2 separate regions of the Homo sapiens genome follow, and region 1 is linked to region 2. The links are contacts of gene promoters, found by promoter capture Hi-C in blood cells and fetal thymus (Javierre and others, 2016). All regions are on one chromosome and are shown on one strand. Each heading gives the region's core, a stretch centred on a gene start or on the middle of the fragment in contact. The rest is flanking DNA. Distances are from core to core; before and after follow the strand shown.

The links. Contacts are between HindIII fragments. The CHiCAGO score rates a contact against its expected background, and 5 or more counts as called.
Region 1: a contact is called between a fragment that was not itself captured here and the fragment with the promoter of BRAF in region 2, in 1 of 17 cell types (megakaryocytes). The highest score is 5.5, in megakaryocytes.

The regions. Positions count from the first base shown.
Region 1 is chr7:140,753,680-140,757,791 of GRCh38, forward strand. It overlaps BRAF (B-Raf proto-oncogene, serine/threonine kinase), which reads right to left. Exons shown (of 18, transcript NM_004333.6): 14 at 508-554. Among named protein-coding and RNA genes, the nearest start is that of NDUFB2-AS1, 59 kb to the left of the region's middle. The HindIII fragment of the contact is 1,085 bases long and covers 998-2,082 here.
Region 2 is chr7:140,923,138-140,927,319 of GRCh38, forward strand. BRAF (B-Raf proto-oncogene, serine/threonine kinase) reads right to left here and starts at 1,792. Exons shown (of 18, transcript NM_004333.6): 1 at 1,429-1,792. The coding sequence starts at 1,566. LOC105375536 (a long non-coding RNA gene) reads left to right here and starts at 1,955. Exons shown (of 5, transcript XR_002956518.2): 1 at 1,955-3,365; 2 at 3,934-4,052. RefSeq lists a silencer at 1,615-1,684. The HindIII fragment of the contact is 2,638 bases long and covers 1-2,331 here.

The sequences.
Region 1 (4,112 bases), core at 290-2,789, 170 kb before region 2:
ATTTTAGCAATGTAGGCCCAGATATTCTCTTGGCACTCCTGGGCGAGCAGTAAAGGCTCTTCATTGGAATGAAGATGCTGCAGATAGTATCTTAGTCTGCACTTAGGGAAGAGAAATATTATGTTTTTCTCACCTCATTGTTATATAATTTAGAGTCTTCAGTTATATCTCAACTACCACTGAGCAAGGTCAGAGGTCTGAAAGGGACTAATAGATAGCTACAAAACTATCAGTTTTATAGTGCTGATAAAATGTAAGCAAGCAATCAAAAACTCCTACTATTGTAAAGACTTCTGATAGATTTTCTTGTAATGTTCAGTTGTCGAGAAACCAAAAGCAGGCTGTGGTATCCTGCTCTCCTATACATGCATGCACAATCCTTTATTAATTCTCTTTACAGTATATCGAACTTAGCATGAAAACTGTTTTTACATAATGTGAAGACAAAATGCAGAAGAAAAAGTCAGGATGTTTTCAAACTTCGCAGACAAATTTCAGGAAGGATACTATTACTCTTGAGGTCTCTGTGGATGATTGACTTGGCGTGTAAGTAACTGAAAAACAAAACATCATTTTAACCTGAGTAGGGCTAAAGGACTCTGGCCTCGAAATCTACAGAACATACTTGGGGGTGTAAAGACTTATTTAGAATCATGATACAACTGAAAATAGTACATTGTAATAAACCCTTCACAGAATATTAAAATAGACTGTAAATGAATTTAAGATTATAGGAACATATCACTATAATGGTACAGTCAAAATCTTGTTTTCTATTAAAAGACTTTGCTTTATCTTTTACTAGTTACCAATACAAACCTTTCACTCCAGTCAAGCCTATTTATCCATGTCCCTTAAATATACCTTGATATTTAATCCCACCACTGTGTTCAATGCTCCCCTCCTACACCCAACCCTCCAAGTTAGCTTTCGTTCTATTTTCCACCTATTCATATCCATCCTTTAAAACTGAATACAAATTCTAACTCCTGAGTGAAGCTTTCCCATGACTAACCGAACTGAAAGTGCTCTTTCACTGCTCAACTTATGTAGTAATTATCATAATAATGGCTTGATTCATGTGTTTTTTCAACGTGCCTATGTTCACTTCTATTTGGAATGTAAACTACTAGAACATGCAGTTTGGTAATTAAAACTATTTTTAAAGGTAGTTGTCATATATTCTTAAAATATTTTCTTAAAACTAGTGAGGAGAAAACTTTCTCTAAAATGGCCATAGTAGGTCTATTTTAAAGTCAACGATAACTTTAAAATCATCTATGTTACCCCTAAAAACTGCTTTAGCTACATTCATTGAAGTAAAAGGCAGCATTGTTGTTGTTGTTTTTGGGGAGACAAAGTCTTACTCTATCACCCAGGCTGGAGTGTAGTGGCACGACCTTGGCTCACTGCAACCTCCACCTCCTGGGCTCAAGAGATCCTCCTGTCTCAAAAGGGCTGTGTCTTGTTTATTTCTTTGTATACCCAGTGCCGAGAACAGTGCTTGGTATGTGTGGTAAGTATTCAATACATGTCTACTGAATCAACTACAATAAGATGCATATAATGTGCTAGTCAAGGTTATTTTTCTTAATTGAATACCGGAGAGAATAGCTATATGACACTTCTGAAATCTGACAATGATCATTAGACAGTTTTACCTTAAAATGAGAATTTAAAATCCAAATGGTATAATCAAAATCATGCAATAAACACTGTTAAAAGTGGAAGATTTGCAAATAACCAAGATTATTCATGCTGTCTCATCTTCATTTAAACGTCCTCATTCTTCCCAATATCAAAAATTTTAAAGTATTTTCTAGATAAAATTTTCATTTCAAATTACTATTTATCTAAAGTAATCCCTTCTCCAATTACTATTCATATCACAGTTTATGTTCTTCATAGCATTTACTACAATTGAAAATTATCTTGTCATGACTTTAGGCTCAGTGTTCTACATCATATTGTCACTCTTTCACTGAAAGAAAATGTTATTTCGGTTATAGGTCTCACTGCTTACAAAGTTCTGCAGTGACATACAAAGTTAAAAACTGGTGGAAATAAATGGGCCCCAATCAAAGCTTTAAGATGGTGAGATCTTGTCTCCATTAGAAAGAAAGGGGGATAAATGATGATGGTGTTGGTTGGTGGAGCTAGGTCCTGCACTCAGAGAGACCTGGGATCTAGTATACAGCCAAGGTGTTGGTCTTTGAAAGGAGGTTCTTTTTCCTGCAAGACTTAAAAACAAAAACAAATGGGCTTCAACCATATCAAAATACAGAGGCATGCTGAAGATAAAAGAGGGGAAGATAAAGGTGTTCTCCATGGGATGGTGTTAATCCTTTCAACAAATTTGATGCAGAGGAATATAGCAAGAATAGAGTAGACAGAAATGTAACTGGGGAGAGTGGGGAGAGAAATTTTCTGACCAGGAAAGCACTAGATAATTAACAAGATATAAATGTAATTGGGGAACCAGTGATATACCCAGCATAGAAGTTATATAGCATAAATTTGTTATAGGCCGAGTTGCATAAAAATACAACCTGAAACAACACTTTATACCTGTGTAATCCTTTATTACTTACAAACTGCTTTGTTAATTTTTATCTCATTGAATAATTCTCTTTCTGTAATCCTTCTGTAACAAAAGCAGCAAAGAGTAGAAGTCCAGGTCTGTAGAATGAAAGGCTGGAAGGAAAAGGGGGTCTAATCCCCCAGCTAGAGAAATGGGATGAGACACAACCGAATCCCTACATAAGATAATGTTTCACAGTAATCACTACCCTAAATAATTCTATATAGGGGGACACTAAAACGTAATTTCCTAAGCACCACCCAGTTACAATGGAAAATGCCAAAAAAAAAACCCAAACAAAAATAACAGAAAACAAATAACTCACATAACTGTTTGGGAGTAGGGAAGGGAACAAGAATATATCAACTTTACTTTGCCATATATGACACAGAAGTCAATCCATTAATTAGGATAATTAGATTGGACCTCCCTCTTTCCTTGGTAAGATGTTAAGGAGAGCATTACAGTTTTACAGAAGTACTAGGAAAGAACAAATATGCTATCAACCAAAGGAACAACACATTCTCTTGATAGGTTTCTCTTAACAGTCTCATTCCTTGAAGAAAAAGTGTCCACCTATAGAACCATTTAATCTTAGAGCTACAAAATCATCTGGTAAAATTTCTTCTCACACTACTTCAAGCTCTTATCCAAGATTCAGCTTTTCCACATTCTTACAGAGCATAATGTGGTGCCCCAAATTAAAAGCAATACTTCAGATCGGATCTAACCAACACAAACTATGGTGAGATCCTCATCTTCATCTCCCACATGGTGGGCATACAACATTAAATCAGACATTATTGTGATTGTTATGGCAGCCAAAGTCATGCTACTGAGTCCAATTAAAATTATATTTAATTACATGCTTCCTGCTGCTGGGTCAAAATTTATGACAATAAATAGAATTTTTAAAAAAGGGCACAAAAAGGATTATATTCAATTACAATCCTAGAATAATTATTCTTGAATTGCTCCTATAAAACATTTTCCCCATCTTATACTTGTATATTTCTCTTTTTTTGGACTTGACTAGGATTTTTTTTTTGAGACAGAGTCTCACTCTGTCACCAGCCTGGAGTGCGGTGGTGCGATATCGGCTCACTGCAACCTCCACCTCCTAGGTTCAAGTGATTCTCCTGCCTCAGCCTCCTGAGTAGCTGGGACTACAGGCGCGCGCCACCATGCCCAGCTAATTTTTGTGTTTTTAGTAGAGATGGGGTTTCACCATGTTGGCTAGGATGGGCTCAGTCTCTTGACCTCGTGATCTGCCTGCCTCAGCCTTCCAAAGTGCTGGGATTACAGGCGTGAGCCACCACGCCCAGCCTTAGGATTTTAAATTTTGTAGACATGGTCTATAATTTCAGATTAAAACTTTAGCTTTCACTAAAAAAGTCGGTTTTTTCTTGCCTGCTTCATTTTTCTTTAATAAAACATAGGTTATTTTTATTTTCTTGTTTCAAGAGTCTTACGTGAGAGCTGAAAAAAGGAGATTTTTAAAGATCGGCATGCTAATAATTCCTCACATAAG
Region 2 (4,182 bases), core at 542-3,041:
ACAAGCTGATGCTGAATAAAGCAAGCATATTGGATGAATTTCCAAAGATGATGATGCAAAAAAAAAATTGCAGAGAGAATGAGATGTTATGAGAATTGAGAAATTAGATGTTAATAGTAAGTAGCAAAGAGAACTTCGAGCAAAGTCAACAGAGTAAGTCACATTACCTAATCAATAACTGTAAACCACAATTATTATACCATATCTTATTTGTAAAGCATAATAAAGTATTATTTTCTGTAATAAAATACCAAATATTTGTAATAAATTTTATGTAATAAAAAAACGTAAATAATTTGACACAGTGCTAAGAGGCTGACTAATGCAAAAACAGGCTGAGAGAAGCAAGGACTGGAGAGGAAAAAGGAAAAGGAAAAAAATAGGACAAAAAGGAGGACAACACTAAGAAATCAATCAGACCTATAAAAATGGGTAGGAATAAAGAGGTGTGAATGCACAATGGACGACTAGCCAAAAAGTGCCAGTAGTGCAAGCGCGAAAAGAGCCAAGTGAAACCTGATGGAATCTTGACAGCTTCTGGGCTCAGAAAACAAGTAGCTCCAAAGTGTCCAGGAGGATTTGTGAAGATAACAACAGACAACAATGTTAGGGAGTGGTGAGATCAAGTACAGAGCCTCAAGAGGACCAGGGTAAGAGAAGTGCAAAAATGCTCTTAAGTGGGAGCTGGGGTTAGAAGGCAGGCAGGTCCGACAACTGGAAAATGAGCGGGCGGTAGATGGGAATAGAATGGGGGTTACCAATCAGCGACAGAGCGCTGACAAACATTAGGAACAGAGGACCAGAGACCAGAAAAGGCATCGGAAACTGCGATTTAGGATTGAAAAAGTAAAGACTAAATCAAAATAATTTGCTGGGTAAAACAGGTGAAGAGAAATCCCCAAATAGAAAAGTGAAAAAGGGCAGCGGACTGAGAAGGGGGGCAGTCCGGGAGAGGAGAGAGGAAATGATGAGCCCCATCATCCCCACGACCATGTAAGAATTACACGCGACAGTAACTCGGGCTGTTGTCTCAGCCCCAGCAACTAACCTATATCCTCCACGTCGAGGCCGCCGCCGCCCCCACCCCACAGAGATGCAGAGCTGGATACTTCAGCCAATCGTGACCTTCTCGGACCAACCCTGAGTTTCGCCCCCTATTGATAGCCTCCCGCTCAACCACCGCTGCCCCAATCCCCACATCTGGGGTGGGGGCCAGGGAAACCCCCCGGGCCATTGTGTGTGTTTACGTAGGAAGGCGCTGCATGACGGAGAGGGACACGGGGGCGATGCCCACCTCCCAGCCCGCGGAGCTGGCCCGAGAAGGTGGCTGAGGGCATCAAGCCCCCACCGCCGCCTCTTTCCAAAATAAACACCAGCCAGCCGCCGAGCCCGGAGTCGGGAGGGCGGCAGGGTGGCGCCAGCACTCACCTCCTCCGGAATGGCAGGGTCCGCAGCCGAAGAGGCCGCGGCGCCGGCGCCGGCGCCGGCCTCGGGCTCCATGTCCCCGTTGAACAGAGCCTGGCCCGGCTCCGCGCCGCCACCACCGCCACCGCTCAGCGCCGCCATCTTATAACCGAGAGCCGGGGCCCGAGCGGCCGCTGTCGGGCGGGGAGGGGGAAGGGAGGCGGAGAGCTGGGGGAGGCGGAGGCGGAGGCGGAGGCGGAGGAGCGGGGGGCGCGGGGGGCGCGGGGAGGAGCGGCCCGGGCGGCGCCGCGGGCGGAGGGCGCCTGGGCCACCTCAGGTACCGGCCCGCGGCCCCGGGCGCAGCCGAGCCTGAGGGGATTGGGGGAAGGACGCTAGGCGGGGGTGCGGGGGGGAGCGGGGGAAGGGGGCGGAGACGACGAGAAGTCGCCGCGGCAACGGCGTCACCCGCGTGTCACGGTCGTGACGTCACCCCGGTGCGTGACGTAATCTGAGGCGCGCCTTCGCGCCGTCGTCCGGGGAGGGTTTTTTCCCTTCTAACCACCCGCGCTCTCACACTTTGCCTCCGCTCCGCCGTTTCCATGGCTCCGGTTTCCTACTTTCCTCTTGTCTCCTCCGTCCTCAGCCTGTTCTGTAATGTGGGATTTACTAGAAGAGCAGGGCTGGTGTTCGAGGAGGAGAAGTTGAAATCCTAGAGGGAGGAAGGCGGGGAAGCCAATACTACTTGCTATTTCCACTGCAATGAACGTCTCTGTGTCATCAAAATAAGAACTTCAACCCCAAGGTTGAAACAGCCAAGCAGAATTTGATGGAAATATATTTAGGAACAGCTAAATTAGCAGTGCGACGCGTGTTTTCTTTTCATTGAAGAATTCAGCCAGTTAAAACGAGTCTAAATGGAAGTCTGAAAGCTTTTTCTTCATTGTTGAGGAATAAAATATTTCGTGTATTTTTCGTTTTCCAGATTCATTCATTTAACAAATATCAGTTGAGCACTTTCCATGCCGTAGGGCCTGTACAAGGCACATAGCATTCTAGACATCTGAAGCATCAAAACTAATCATTTTTATTTTGAAGAAAATCACTCAAAATATTTTATGTACTTTGTGCCTTTCATGAACAGAATATTCCAAGCATTCTCTGCAAAATACGCATGAAAACAATTGGGAGAGAAGAGGTCAATTATCTTTGAGAAGCCCAATTACAGAATGAAATTCAATTCATTATTAAAAATACATGGATCTAATAAAGAATAAATAATTGGAAAAGAAAAGTTTAAGGAAGAGAGAAACGGGAATGAGAAACAATTACTGTGGGCTCCCAATGGCCTGGAGTGAATCACCAAAGTAACCTAAACATGAAGTCATGAAAAACTAAGTGGATTCTGCCTTTTAGTACTTCCCATCATGGGGGAAGTCACCAGCGACCTCCTTACTGTATTTTGGATGATTCAAGAAATAGAAAGGTGTCCTACTGACTTCTGAAACAGGGTGTCTTCATATTGATTAGGGTCACCGTAAGCCTGGGAGCTGATGCTTACTCTCAGGTAAAGGATGCTGTGTGAGGCTGCTTGATGAATGAGAATACTAACATTCTTCTGCATTGAAAAAATATAACCTATAAGATGAACATTGTAGGCCGGGCGCAGTGGCTCACGCCTGTAATCCCAACACTTTGGGAGTCTGAGGCGGATGGATCACCTGAGGCCAGGAGTTTGAGACCAGCCTGGCCAACGTAGTGAAACCTCATCTCTATTAAAAGTACAAAAAATTAGCCTGGTGTGGTGGTGCACACTTGTAATCCCAGCTACTCAGGAGCCTGAGGCAGGAGAATCATTTGAACCTGGGAGGCAGAGGTTGCAGTGAGCCGAGATTGCACCACTGAACTCCAGCCTGGGCAACAGAGCCAGACTCTGTCTCCAAAAAAAAAAAAACATGAACATGGTATGCTTTGTTAACTTCATTGTACATTCTCCTCCAAGTAGGAAAGTTTCTATGAGGAAATAAATTTAAATCAAAAAGTGGCTTGGCAAATGTAGAGTAAATGATCACAAGGGATGATGTCATCAAGCTAAACTAATCTGAAGCACCCTTTACTATAAGGACATACTTAGAAGCAGACTGAAATAGCACCATTAGCCAGTCATGGCACCTTTTCCCCTTTCATCACCCTTTCATCACCCTTTCATCAGAAACACAACTGGCAAGATTTTTGTTAATTCTCTAACTGTCCTATTTCATTTTTAAAAAATTAGCTGCTAAAAATGTTATATCATTATAACACTTCCTTATAACATTAAAAGTTTTAAAGGCTTTTATCCTCACATTGGTTCCATTTTGAATTCTAGCCTTATTTGTCAGTATCAGTCTGTAGTTCAGATCTTCCATGATTATTTCTCCACAGGATGACTGGTCTCATCCATTTAATATTGATTCTTCTTAGCGTTCTACTCATTTGACATTTTCTGACCTTGCCTTAAAATTCTGGATATATCCTGTTTTACTTCCTTAGGCCATTCTAAAGTCCTACAGTATCCAGATGAGAAACGAGAGAAAGCATAAGCTTTGGAGTCCAAAGATCAGGATTTTAGCGTCAGCACTCCACACCTTAGCTATACAATCTCAAAGCAGGTAAGCTTAAATCCCTGTTTGTTGTTTTGTTTTTTAATCTATAAAATGAAGGTTATAATAATGCTAGCCCAACCTGCCAAACTATCATTGTGAGGATCAAACATTATACTTTCACCCTTTGAAAAATATA